4 separate regions of the Homo sapiens genome follow, and regions 2, 3 and 4 are each linked to region 1. The links are contacts of gene promoters, found by promoter capture Hi-C in blood cells and fetal thymus (Javierre and others, 2016). All regions are on one chromosome and are shown on one strand. Each heading gives the region's core, a stretch centred on a gene start or on the middle of the fragment in contact. The rest is flanking DNA. Distances are from core to core; before and after follow the strand shown. Region 1 holds the start of TRH (thyrotropin releasing hormone). Region 2 has its middle 19 kb from the start of PLXND1. Region 3 holds the start of H1-8 (H1.8 linker histone). Region 4 has its middle 38 kb from the start of PLXND1.

The links. The method cuts DNA at HindIII sites, captures the fragments that hold promoters and counts their contacts. A CHiCAGO score of 5 or more calls a contact.
Region 2: a fragment that was not itself captured here is called in contact with the fragment with the promoter of TRH in region 1 in 4 of 17 cell types (non-activated CD4 T cells, naive CD4 T cells, megakaryocytes and 1 more); the score reaches 6.0 in non-activated CD4 T cells.
Region 3: a contact is called between the fragment with the promoter of H1-8 here and the fragment with the promoter of TRH in region 1, in 2 of 17 cell types (non-activated CD4 T cells and neutrophils). The highest score is 5.7, in non-activated CD4 T cells.
Region 4: a fragment that was not itself captured here is called in contact with the fragment with the promoter of TRH in region 1 in 6 of 17 cell types (erythroblasts, M0 macrophages, activated CD4 T cells and 3 more); the score reaches 6.2 in erythroblasts.

Annotation. Positions count from the first base shown.
Region 1 is chr3:129,973,389-129,976,275 of GRCh38, reverse strand. It overlaps TRH (thyrotropin releasing hormone), which reads right to left and starts at 1,556. Exons shown (of 3, transcript NM_007117.5): 1 at 1,453-1,556; 2 at 249-467. The coding sequence starts at 459. It also overlaps the pseudogene LOC124906284. The HindIII fragment of the contact is 1,305 bases long and covers 1,031-2,335 here.
Region 2 is chr3:129,623,836-129,626,787 of GRCh38, reverse strand. No RefSeq gene overlaps it. Among named protein-coding and RNA genes, the nearest start is that of PLXND1, 19 kb to the right of the region's middle. RefSeq lists enhancers at 1,233-1,842, 2,908-2,952, 2,495-2,952. The HindIII fragment of the contact is 4,995 bases long and covers 1-2,952 here.
Region 3 is chr3:129,541,695-129,544,579 of GRCh38, reverse strand. It overlaps H1-8 (H1.8 linker histone), which reads right to left and starts at 1,405. Exons shown (of 5, transcript NM_153833.3): 1 at 1,274-1,405. The coding sequence starts at 1,361. RefSeq lists an enhancer at 1,365-1,866. The HindIII fragment of the contact is 913 bases long and covers 670-1,582 here.
Region 4 is chr3:129,643,415-129,646,114 of GRCh38, reverse strand. No RefSeq gene overlaps it. Among named protein-coding and RNA genes, the nearest start is that of PLXND1, 38 kb to the right of the region's middle. The HindIII fragment of the contact is 3,721 bases long and covers 1-2,700 here.

The sequences.
Region 1 (2,887 bases), core at 307-2,806:
TAGCACACAGAAGCTTCCCCACCCAGGGCCTGCTCTCTGTGAAATATTCCCAGCATTGAGACAGGGGAGGAATCTGACCCCGAGGAATGGTCAACTCCAGATCCCGCCTAGGCGCAGCCAGGGAGGGTTTCTGAGCTTCCGAAAGGCAGAAGGCTAGCTGACCAAGCCTCCCCTCCCCTTTGCCGGCAGGTTTCCACGGCTCTCCCAATAGCCTAGCCCCACAGCCCCCAACAGCCCCATCCACTCACCGGAGTGCTCACCCTGGTCCCCTTGCAGCCGCTGGATGTTTTCCCGGAGGAAGAGGAGGCGCTCCACCTGGCGCAGGAAGTCATCCAGGCCCGGATGCTCCGCGGCCGTCACTGCCTCCTGCTGGGCCGCCTCTGGCTGAGCACGGCCGCCGGGGACACCGGTCAGGTTCAGGGTCAAAGCCAGAGCGAGCAGCAACCAAGGGCCGGGCATCGCGGCGTCTGGGTTAGGGGACAGAGGGAGCCTGAGCGCACCGAATCACAGCACATCCCGCTCCATCTCCCCCGACGCCCGCCAGAAACAAACCACGCACAGTTCAACCGCCCTCCCAGAAGCAGGACCACTGCCCCTCGTGCAGGGGCGGGAGCAGCGGCGGGTTCGCCCCGGCTCTGCGTCCACACCTGTCACCTCTAGGCGTCCTCGCCCCCACGGGTGCCTGTAGTGCCTGCGCCCAGTTCTGCTTGCGCAAGGCAGGAGGCCGTAGGAACCCCATCGCCAGCGCCACCGCCACCCTTCAATGTGACGCGGAACTGGGGAAGCCAACGCTGGGACTGCCTCGCCGGGAGTGCAACCATTGAGATTGCAGCGCCAGGCACAGCCGCGACGCTAACGGTTGCGTCCCCGCCAAGACTCCCCCAAAGGTCCCCATCGCCACGTTCTAACTCCAAGCTCCGTGGCCGACGTCCTCATTCCAACGCGAAGATCCCATTTCTATCGCTAAGATTCAGGTTCTAAAGCTCAAAGTCTATTTGCAAAGCTAAGATTCTATTTCTAATGCTAAGCTTTCATGACTAAGCCAGGAATCTGATTCTAACGCTAAAATCCTAACTTCAACGCTAAAATTCTATTTCTAGCGTTGAGATTGGGATTCGAACTCCCAGGTTCTCAGGCCGACGCCCTGAATACCCAGCTCTGTCCGGCGGCACCCAGGCAGGGGGTGCCGCGGAGCTCCCACCCCGCGCTGCGGACTCTGGCGACCTGAGTGCCCAGCAGCGAGAGCCTCCGATGTGCCCGCGCCGTGCCTCCCGTCGGGTCCCCGGCCTGCGCTCGGGGAGGACCCGGGGGTGCGAGCACAGCGCCCGCCTGTGCACCGGCCCTGTTCTCCAGGAAGCTCTCAGAGAACCGAAGGTGAGGGCGGGCCGAGAGGGCTCCCTTTCCAGTGCTCCCGGACACCGTCTGCGGAAGGAGAGGGGTTGGGGCGGTTACCTGCCAGGAGTGGGCTCCACAGGATGGGTCCGGGATCCGGGGACTCGGGATCCGCAGTCGGCAGGTCAGGAGTCTGCAGCGCTGAGGACCCCGGGCGCCTGCCGAGCCCTCTTCAGATGGGCCGCCGCTTATATCTGCGCCAGGCGGCGGCTCGAGTGAGGTCAGCGGGGAGGGGTCGCGGCCGCCGGGAAGGGGCGCTGACGGCAGCCGGCCCCGCGGGACCCCGCCCGCCTGCTCCTCCGGAAATCTGGGGCGGGGACGGTGGGGACCGGAGCCGGGGCGCGGAGGCACTGGCCGCAGGATGGGGCGCCGGCGCGGGGTCGTTTCTGCACCACCTCTGGAGATCTGTTGACGAGAACACGCGTGTAGGGGGCAAAGGGAGGGACAGAGAGATTGAGAGAAGCGCACGATTAAACACAGGCGCACGAGAGAGCTAGAGGGCGAGACAAAGACCGAGATCCACACGGAGACGACGGAGAAACACAGGGCAGACACACACGAAAGGGACACGGCCGCAGAACCAATGTAGAACGCAGACGGGCGAGAGTAGAGCAAGAGAGAGAGAGAGAGAAAGAGAGAGAGAGAGAGAATGGGGGGCAAGTGGGAGCGGAGCTCTACTTTTTTTTTTTTTTTTTTTAAAGAGATGGGATCTCGCTTTGTCCCCCAGACTGGAGTGCGGTGGCGCGATCACGGCTCACTGCAGCCTTGAACTCCTGGGCTCAAGTCATCCTCCTGCCTCAGACTCCTGCGTCTCTGGGATTACAGGCGTGAGCCACCCCGCAGGCTCCAGGGTGCTAATCTTAACTGTGTCATTCCTGGCTAGTGCCTCCGTTTCTCTGGGCCTCAGTTTTCTCCTCTGTGTAATAGGAGCCAGAGGAAAGCTTTCAGAATTCCAAAAGTGGCGGCCTGTAGGCTACAACCAGTTCATGGACAATTTTGATTGACTTCCACAGTGTTTTGAAAAAAATCTGAATAACCAACATTTTAAAACCAAGATAACTTAGAAAATTTTGGATTTATGGCTTCTCTTGAAAAAGAATGGGCCCCCATTTCCTCCTGTCAACAGCCAGGTGGAGCTGAGCCTGGCTGCTCTCGGCCACCACAGTCTCCACCACTCCCTAATGTCTTCCAATGTGTTGCCCCTGTCACTGAGGAGGGACATTCGAGTCTGCAGCCCCTGCACAGGAATCTATTGGAGTTCACCCAACTCTAGCAAAGGAGGGGAGGGGAAGCAGGGAGGAGAAACACATGGGTGCCAAGGAGCTTGCCCCCCGAGTCAGTTCCCAAAGTCCCAGATGTGGGACTGCCACATCTAGCCCTGGGGACTGCCTCCATCTTGAAACTTTTTTTTTAAAACAGGGTCTCATTCTGTCACCCAGGCTGGAGTGCAGTGGTGCAATCTGACCTCACTGTAGCCTTGACCTCCCCAGTTCAA
Region 2 (2,952 bases), core at 37-2,536, 350 kb after region 1:
CCCCTCCCACCCCTGCCGGTCAGAAAGCAGGGACCCGCCCCGCCCCAGCTCTGTCCCCAGGCTAAGAACCTGGCACAGGCTGGCGAGTATGGAACTGGGTTGTTTTTAAAAACTTTTATTCATTGAGTTATAATTTACATCAGGAGAAGTGGCCTCAGATCTCAAATGTGAAGTCTGGTAAACTTTGCACGTTTATACCCTGTAAATGCTCTGAACAAGACATGGAACATTCCCAGCAACCAGAAAATTCCCTGGTGGCCCTTCCCAGTCAGTCCCTCCCCCCAGCCCCAGCCCTAGCCCTGGCAACTACCCATCTGTGTCCCGTCCTGTGGCCTGGCCTTTTCCAAACAGCATGTACATGGGATCCTGCAGCGTGGAGCCTTTCCAGCCTGGCTTGGAGATGCATCCTTGTGTCGGAGTATCAAGAGGCTGTTCCTTTTCGTTCCATTGTATGGAGGCCTCCATGTGTTTACCTCTTCACCAGCCCAGGGACACTTGGCTTGTTTCCAGATTGCAGAAATTATCAATGGAGCTGTGACAAGCATCTGTACAGGTTTTTATGGACCTGTGTTTTAATTTTATTCCAATATCTAGACGTGGGATTGCCAGGATGCACGTGTCTACATTTGACTTTTTTTTTTTTTTTTTTTTTTGAGACAGTCTCACTCTGTCTGTCCCAGGAGTGCAGTGGCGCAATCTCGGCTCACTGCAAGCTCCGCCTCCCGGGTTCATGCCATTCTCCTGCCTCAGCCTCCTGAGTAGCTGGGATTACAGGCGCCTGCCACCGCGCCCGGCTAATTTTTTTTGTATTTTTAGTAGACACAGGGTTTCACCGTGTTAGCCAGGCTGGTCTCTATCTCCTGACCTCGTGATCCGCCCGCCTCGGCCTCCCAAAGTGCTGGGATTACAGGCGTGAGCCACCGCGTCCAGCCACATTTGACTTTTTTTGAAGAAACTAGCAAAAGGTTTTACAGAGTGGCTGCACCATTTCACATTTCACCCCTGCCCCTGTGGCTCCACATCCTCACCCACACTTGGTGGTGTCAGTCTTTTCTGTCTCAGCCTTTCAAGTGGGAGTAGGGCTGTCTCAAGACAGGGTTGACTGAGCAAAGAGCGAACTCCCACCCAGCGCCTCCCAGTGGTTTCCTGCCCTTCCCTCATCCTGCTCCCAGATGGAGGTGCAGGCAGTGGTCCCAGCCCCAGCTCTACCCCACGAGTCCCCAGGTGAATGCTCCACCCCACGAGTCCCAGGACTGAGCAGGCACGCACCTTCCTATGCTCAAGTCCTCCTCAGACACTGGAGCAGGGAGGCACTGGCAGAGTCCCCAAGTCCAAAGTGATGGGCTGTGTTTCCACCTGGTCCTACCTGCTTAGCCATCTAGCCTTCTTCCCAAACAAGCAGCCTCTGGAGGAATCACTGGAAGACAGATGGGGAAGGGGGCGGTGAACACAGGTGCTGCGTGGGAAGCCGAGGGGATGGGTGGCTGCAGCCTGTGCCCCCAGCAGGTAGGCAGTCCTCATGGTTGGACCACCCACATCCACGGGCCCCCCTGGAGGCCCTGCTCTGCCTCTGAGACCCTGTGACCCTGTGTTTTGGGAGATGGGGTGGCAGTACCAAGGTGAGCCTGACTGCCTTCAGCAAACCTTTACTGTGCACCTACTGTGTGCCGGGCCCTGCTGTGGCCCTGGAGACATATCCCCTGCCCTGGTGAAGGTCCATCCAGTGAGAGAGATGGATACTAGCCCTGATTGGCACTTTGGTCAGGGAGGGCCTCTTTGGAGGGGGATATTTGAGCAGAAACCTGAGGGATAAGAAGGCGGCAGCCCTGGGGAGATCTGGAAAGGGCATGACAGGCAGAAGGCACAGCAAAAGCACCGTCCTGGACCAAGCTCAGTGAGGAGGCCAGTGCTGCTGGAGCGGAGAGCCAAAGGGAAGCCTCGATGGTGCCTCTGCCAGGGGTCCCAGCTACTCAGGAGGCTGAGGTTGGAGGATGGCTTGAGCCTAGGAAGTCGAGGCTGCAGTGAGCTGAGATCGCAACACTGCACTCCAGCCTGGGTGACAGAGTCAGACCCTGTCTCAAAAAAAAAAAAATAAAGAAGTGGAGCTGAGGATTCAGATATGCAGGAAGTGAGGGAAGATCATGTGAGGACACAGCCAGAAGGCACCATCTGCAAGCCAAGGAGAGAGGCTGCAGCAGACACCAACCCTGCAGACTCCTTGGTCTTGGACTTGGCCTTGCAGCCTCCAGAACAGCGGGAGAGGTCACGGGGCCAGGGGGAGGTTTGCTTGCTAGGCTGCCGTAACAAGAGGCCACAGACTGGATCGCTCAACAACAGAAACCTATTTCCTCTCAGTTCTGGAGGGTGCAAGTGGTACAGCCACAGCTCACTGCAGCCTTGACCTCCTGGGCTCAAGCCATCTTCCCACCTCGGTCCTCTAAGTAGCTGAGACTACGGGCAGCAGCCTCCATGCCCAGCTAACTTTTTGTAGAGATGGCGGGGCGGGTGGGGGGGGTCTCACTGTGTTGCCTAGGCTGGTCTCGAACTCCTGGGCTCAAGCGATCCTCCTGCATCAGCCTCCCAAAGTGCTAGGATCACAGGCGTGAGCCACCGCACCTGGCCCTAATCTCCTCATACCATCTCATTTTAACTTAATGAACTCTTTAAAGGCTGTCTCCAGATACAGTCTCATCCTGAGGTATTGGGGGTTTCAACATTTGAATTTGTCGGGGGCACACAGTTTGGACTAAGACAGAAGGAAGAGGAGGCCAGGGCGATTGGGATTGGGGCCTGAGCCCCGGCTGAGTGAAGGAGAGGAGAGCACCACATCTCCTTCCTCAGCCACTGAGCGCCTACTGTGTGCAGCCCAGCCTCTGGGGGTGAGGAAGGCAAGGCTGGAGGTGAGAACCTGGCTGGGAGAGCTGACTCGGGCCTCCTGCTCCTCCGGCCTTT
Region 3 (2,885 bases), core at 156-2,655, 430 kb after region 1:
AGCCCCCCAAATCTGCCCCTCCTCTCTCTTCCAGGAATGCCCCATGCCCCCACTGCCCATACCTACCCAACATCCAAGCAAGAACTGGGGGCATTCTGGGCCCTTTCCTCCTCACCACACCCACTCGAGGCCTCCCCATAGGCTTTTCTCTCCATATTCTGGCCTCTCCTCTCCAACTCCCCAGCCCCAGCCTCCTCCCCACTGCCTCTTCCCCACCGCATGCATTCTCCTCGCTGTATCTCACACCCCTCACCTCCCTGCTTGAAACCGTCCATGGCTCCCTGTTCAAGATAAAAGTTGACCTAACTGAAGACCGCCTTGGAGGCCCTCCCACTGCTCCCCTAGCACTGCCCCAGCACTTCCCTCCTTCCCAGAAGGAAGATGCAGCTTCCGAGACAAGCTGCTGGTGCGCTGGCCTCTGGGCCTTAGCCCATGCCGTTTCCTCTGCCTGGGCTGCCTCTCTCCTCCCGGTCATGCAGGCTGCTCTCACTCATCCTTCAAGGCTCAAAATGCACCTTGGTTTGGACACCTCTGACTTCCCAGTTAACTCTGCCCTTTTACTTCTCGGCACCTGGACCCCCTCCCTATCTCCCTAGGTGTCTTGGCAAATAGAACACTTCCCCCGGCTGAGGCACACCCATCCTTCAGGGTCACCTCTTCTAGGAAGCTTTCCCTGACCTCCCAGAGTGGGTTAGAGGACTCCTCTGGGCTCCTCCAGCTCTGGATTACCGCCACTGAAGCACACATCACATTAGCAAACAGCAACAAGCCATGGGCCAGGCTTCCCCATCAGACCGGGAGGTCCTCGAGGGAGTGAACTGGGCCTGGTTTGCCTCGGTGCACCCTCATGTCCAGATAAACCCTGAGGTGTTTTTTGGTTGAAAATCGGAATGCCTAGCCCTGCATAAAATGCTCCTGCCCCAGTCCCTCCAACTAGCTGCCCACAGCTGCAGCCTGGCTACGGGCTACGGTCCCAGCAGGAAACGGGCTCCAGCTGGAAGGCCCTGTGGCTCTTCCCTGAGCGAGGCCGGCCCCAGCCCCCAGGCCCTACCTGGCCTTGCTACCTGTAGATCAGCTCTTCAGCCAAAAGGCAGTTGAGCTCAGCAGCTTGGTGCTGGGTGGGTGCTGGGTGAGTGCTGGGTGAGTGCTGGGTGGGTGCTGGGTAGGTGCTGGGGCCAGGCTGGGAAAGAACGAGAAGCAGGGGTGGAGCATCAAAGGCAACCCAGGGAGTGGGCTCGCAGGGATGAGGGAGGAGCTGCCTCCTCTTGCTCACCTGGCTTTTCAGATTCAGGAGACCTGGATGATCCTGCTGTGGAAGTCGAGGAGGGTGAGATGTCGCTGGTGACGCTCCCAGGAGCCATGAGACCGACAGGTGCAGCCAGCAGACCCCTCACCCGGGTGTGAGGCTGCTGGGCCTGCCCACTAGGCTTATATACCAGCAGCCCACCCCCACCACTCCAATCAGCCCTGATTGGGCTGGGAGTGCTCCAAGCTGCTGACTGGGGCTGGAGGTGTGGAATGGGGCACAGCATCCTGCCTTCTGTAGGGAGCCCCAGCTGGACTACCCACTCCTGTGTAAGCTTGGGGGTGTCGCTTGACTTCTCTGGGTCTCAGTCCCCATGGTGCAATGTTGGGAGCTGAGATGCTTGATCTCGCCTGTGCCCTCTGCCCACCAGGGGCTGGAGATGCTGATGAGGAATTGGGGTCACCTGTGTTGTCAGGGAGGCCGCTGAGGCGGCCCTCTAATCCTACCAGGTGGGCAATGGGCTGCCCCACGCCACTGCTGGCCTCAATTTCTCAAAAAGTAGCAGTTGGAGGCAGCCCAACTGCTACTTTTGCCCAGAGCACATGCCCCTCAATCAGAGTAGCCCCTTCTGAGGCCAGCCAGGCTCTCTGGGCCTATGCCCTCCTTTGGTTTTGTTTTTAAAGAAATAAATCAATAACGGAGGATGCTTCACAAAAGTCTTCATAGATAAGGACAACATCCACTGGGACAATGGACAAAGAATATAAACAGGCAATTCACCAGCCTAAAGGGTGAGGAACAGAAACAGGAAAATGGACACTCAACTTCCTTGGCATTTGAGAAAATTCAAATTGAAACAATGGTGAAATACTACTTTTTCCCATCAAATTGACAGACAAAAAAAAAAAACTTTCCAAGCAAACACCCAAGGCCTGGCTAAATCACACCCTTTCTGCAGAATATTCTGCAGCCATCTAAAATGACAAGGTGGGCTGGTGCGGTGGCTCAGGCCTGTAATCCTAGCACTTTGGGAGGCTGAGGTGGGCGGATCACCTGAGGTCAGGAGTTTGAGACCAGCCTGGCCAACATGGTAAAACTTCATCTCTACTAAAAATACAAAATTAGCTGGGCGTGGTGGTGTGCACCTGTAGTCCCAGCTACTTGGGAGGCTGAGGCAGGAGAATCACTTGAACCTGGGAGCTGGAGACTGCAGTGAACCAGGATCGAGCCATTGCACTCCAGCCTGGGCAACAAGAGCGAAACTGTGTCTCAAAAATAAGTAAATAAAAATAAAATAAAATAATATAATATAATATAAAATGACAAGATGGATTAAAACAAGGATGAGAGGCCAGGCATGGTGGCTCATACCTGTAATCCCAGAACTTCGGGAGGCTGAGGCAGGAGGATCGCTTGAGCCCAGGAGTTCAAGACCAGCCTAGGCAAAAAAGTGAAATCCTGTCTCTACCAAAAAATACAAAAATTAGCTGGGCATGGTGGTGTGCACCTGTAGTCCCAGCTACCTGGGAGGCCGAGGCAGGAGGATTGCTTGAGCCTGGGAGGTCAAGGCTGCAGGGAGCTGTGATCACACCCCTGCACTCCAGCCTGGGCTACAGAGTAAGACCCTGCCCCCCCCAAA
Region 4 (2,700 bases), core at 158-2,657, 330 kb after region 1:
GCACTCCAGCAGCCAGGGCGACAGAGCGAGACTCTGTCTCAAAAAAAAAAAAAGAAAAGAAAAATGACCAATAAGCATACCAGAAAATTGTTCAGCCTCCTGTATAATCAGTGCATTAAGATTTAAAAAGCCAACTGTGGAACAATATATTGTCTCCCATTTATGTTGAGAATATGTATATTTGTGTAAATATATGCATGTGGATGTGTAAAAACTTTGCATTAAACTTTCCCGTTATTTTGGGAAGGGAGAGGGAGGAACAGTGGTTAAGCAGCACTTTCATGCTTGGCTTCTATAAAGTATGAATCTCTTTGAAGAAAATGTATTTGTGTATTTTTTAAATTAAATATATCAAAAACTTAAAAATAGGTCCAGTGAGAAGTGAAAAAAGAATTGATAGTGTTCCTAATGACAGATCATACTAGACCATCTTTTGCCTCCAGATTGCCTTAGAGGGGGCTCTAGACCAAGTTTGGGCCACCCCTTGAGCTTTCTTCCAGCCCTGGATTTCTAGGCTTGGGGGTCACATAGATGTCCCGCTGCCAGAAGCCCTGCGGGCTGAGAAGGAGGAGCACGTGCAGAGGTGACAGCAGCAGCTGGTACCTCCTATTTAGCCAGCAGCACTTAAGAGCCACTCTATACAAGACTGGGCTGTGGAAAAAGGAACTTAGTAGAATGAAATACATGTGGTAAAGAGGCAGAAGACGTGTGGGAGCAAAGAGGAGGAAGCAATTCTAACAGAGCAATAGGGAAAGGCTCAACGGAGGAGGCCATGGTATCTGGACTGAAAGATGGTGGCTTTATGATGAGCAGAAATAGGTGAGGGGGCATTTCTATTGGAGGTATTAGCAAAACCACAGAGGTGAAAACGGCCTAGGTGAGCAGTTCAAGCAATGGATAAGGAGCCTTAAGTGACTGGTAGGGTGCCTGAAAGAATGTGTGAGAATCATATGTGGGGGCCAAGTTGCAAGAAATCTTGAATACCACGCTAAAGGTTTACCTTGTGACTACAAGAGAAGCCATTACAGGTGTTGAAAGGTGACCCAGCCTTCTGTTTAATTACAGCCCTTTGAGAAGAAACCAGAAACCTGTTTTTCAGGTCATCCCAATCAGTTGGGTGTTTGAGGAATGGTGTCCAAGGTATTTGGTCTTTTGCCTATTGATCCTGTAAGTAGAGGCTCTTCACAGTTTTTTGATAAGTGGAAAAAGGGTGTAGGCAACTCAGAGTTCAGTTCTTTTAAAAAAAAAAAATCCCTGGGCCAGGCGCTGTGGCTCACGCCTGTAATCCCAGCACTTTGGGAGGCCGAGGCAGGCGGATCACGAGGTCAAGAGATGGAGACCATTCTGGCCAACATGGTGAAACCCCGTCACTACTAAAAGTACAAAAATTAGCTGGGCGTGGTGGCACTCACCTGTAGTCCCAGCTACTTGGGAGGCTGAGGCAGGAGAATTGCTTGAACCTGGGAGGCGGAGGTTGCAGTGAGCCGAGATCACGCCACTGCACTCCAGCCTAGCGACAGAGCAAGACTCCATCTCAAAAAAAAAAAAAAAATCCCTGTCACCTTTGGTATTACAATCCTTAAATCCCAGAGCAAGAGTACTTGACAAAATTTATTCATGCTTCTGTCTTACTGAATGTTTAAGCTGTTCAAGAGAATATTCTTTATCTGTTGAAAGAATTCAGTTCAATAGTTTTCGAGACTGTATTAAAAGGTGCAACAAATCATGATGAAAATGAATTATGTTAAATTTTGCCTAAAGCTGCTTCTGTACATATCTTAAGTTTGGCCTAAAGGTTTCTCCATACATAGGGAACTGTAACCTAGCCAGGCATAAGCAGATTGGAACCTACTCTTGTAACGAGTAGCCAAGTCTCCGCCAATCACAGCAGCCGAACTTCAGTCAACCACAGGCAGCCAACTGTTGAAATAAGGTACAAGCCCAGAATAAGTTTAACAAGAATAAGTGAGGTCTGCATACCTCACTTCAATTTTTTATACACCACTTGCCTTTTTCTGTCCATAAATGTTACTTAGCCATATGGCAGCCCCAGACTCTCACTGACCTGTCCTGGTCTTAGGGGCTGCCCAATTCATGAATCATTCTTTGTTAAATTTAACTTGTCTAAAGTTTTTATTTTAAGTATTTTATTTTATTTTATTTCATCTCATTTTATTTTGACAGAGTCTTGCTCTGTCGCCCAGGCTGGAGTGCAGTGGCACGATCTTGGCTCACTGCAACCTCCATCTCCCAGGTTCAAGTGATTCTCCTGCCTCAGCCTCCCAAGTAGCTGGGATTATAGGCCTGTGCCACCACACCGAGCTAATTTTTTGTATTTTTTAGTAGAGACGGGGTTTCACCATGTTGGCCAGGCTGGTCGCTGGTCTCGAACTCCTGACCTCAGGTGATCCACCCACCTCAGCCTCCCAAAGTGCTGGGATTATAGGCATGAACCACCGCGCCTGGCCTCTTTTAAGAATTTTAATAACCACTTTACCTTAACAGAAGGTTGTGAAGGTTATGAGGATTAAATGAAAATTGTACAGAGCCTAGCCCAGCATCTGGCAAGAGAAAGTGCTATACCATGATCTTGATTATTAGTAGACTGAGAATTCCTAGAGGACAGGCACCTGTGTCACTCATCTAACTCTCTTCAGAATATAGCACATCTCCCATTCTTACCAACGAAGAGCCCAGTAG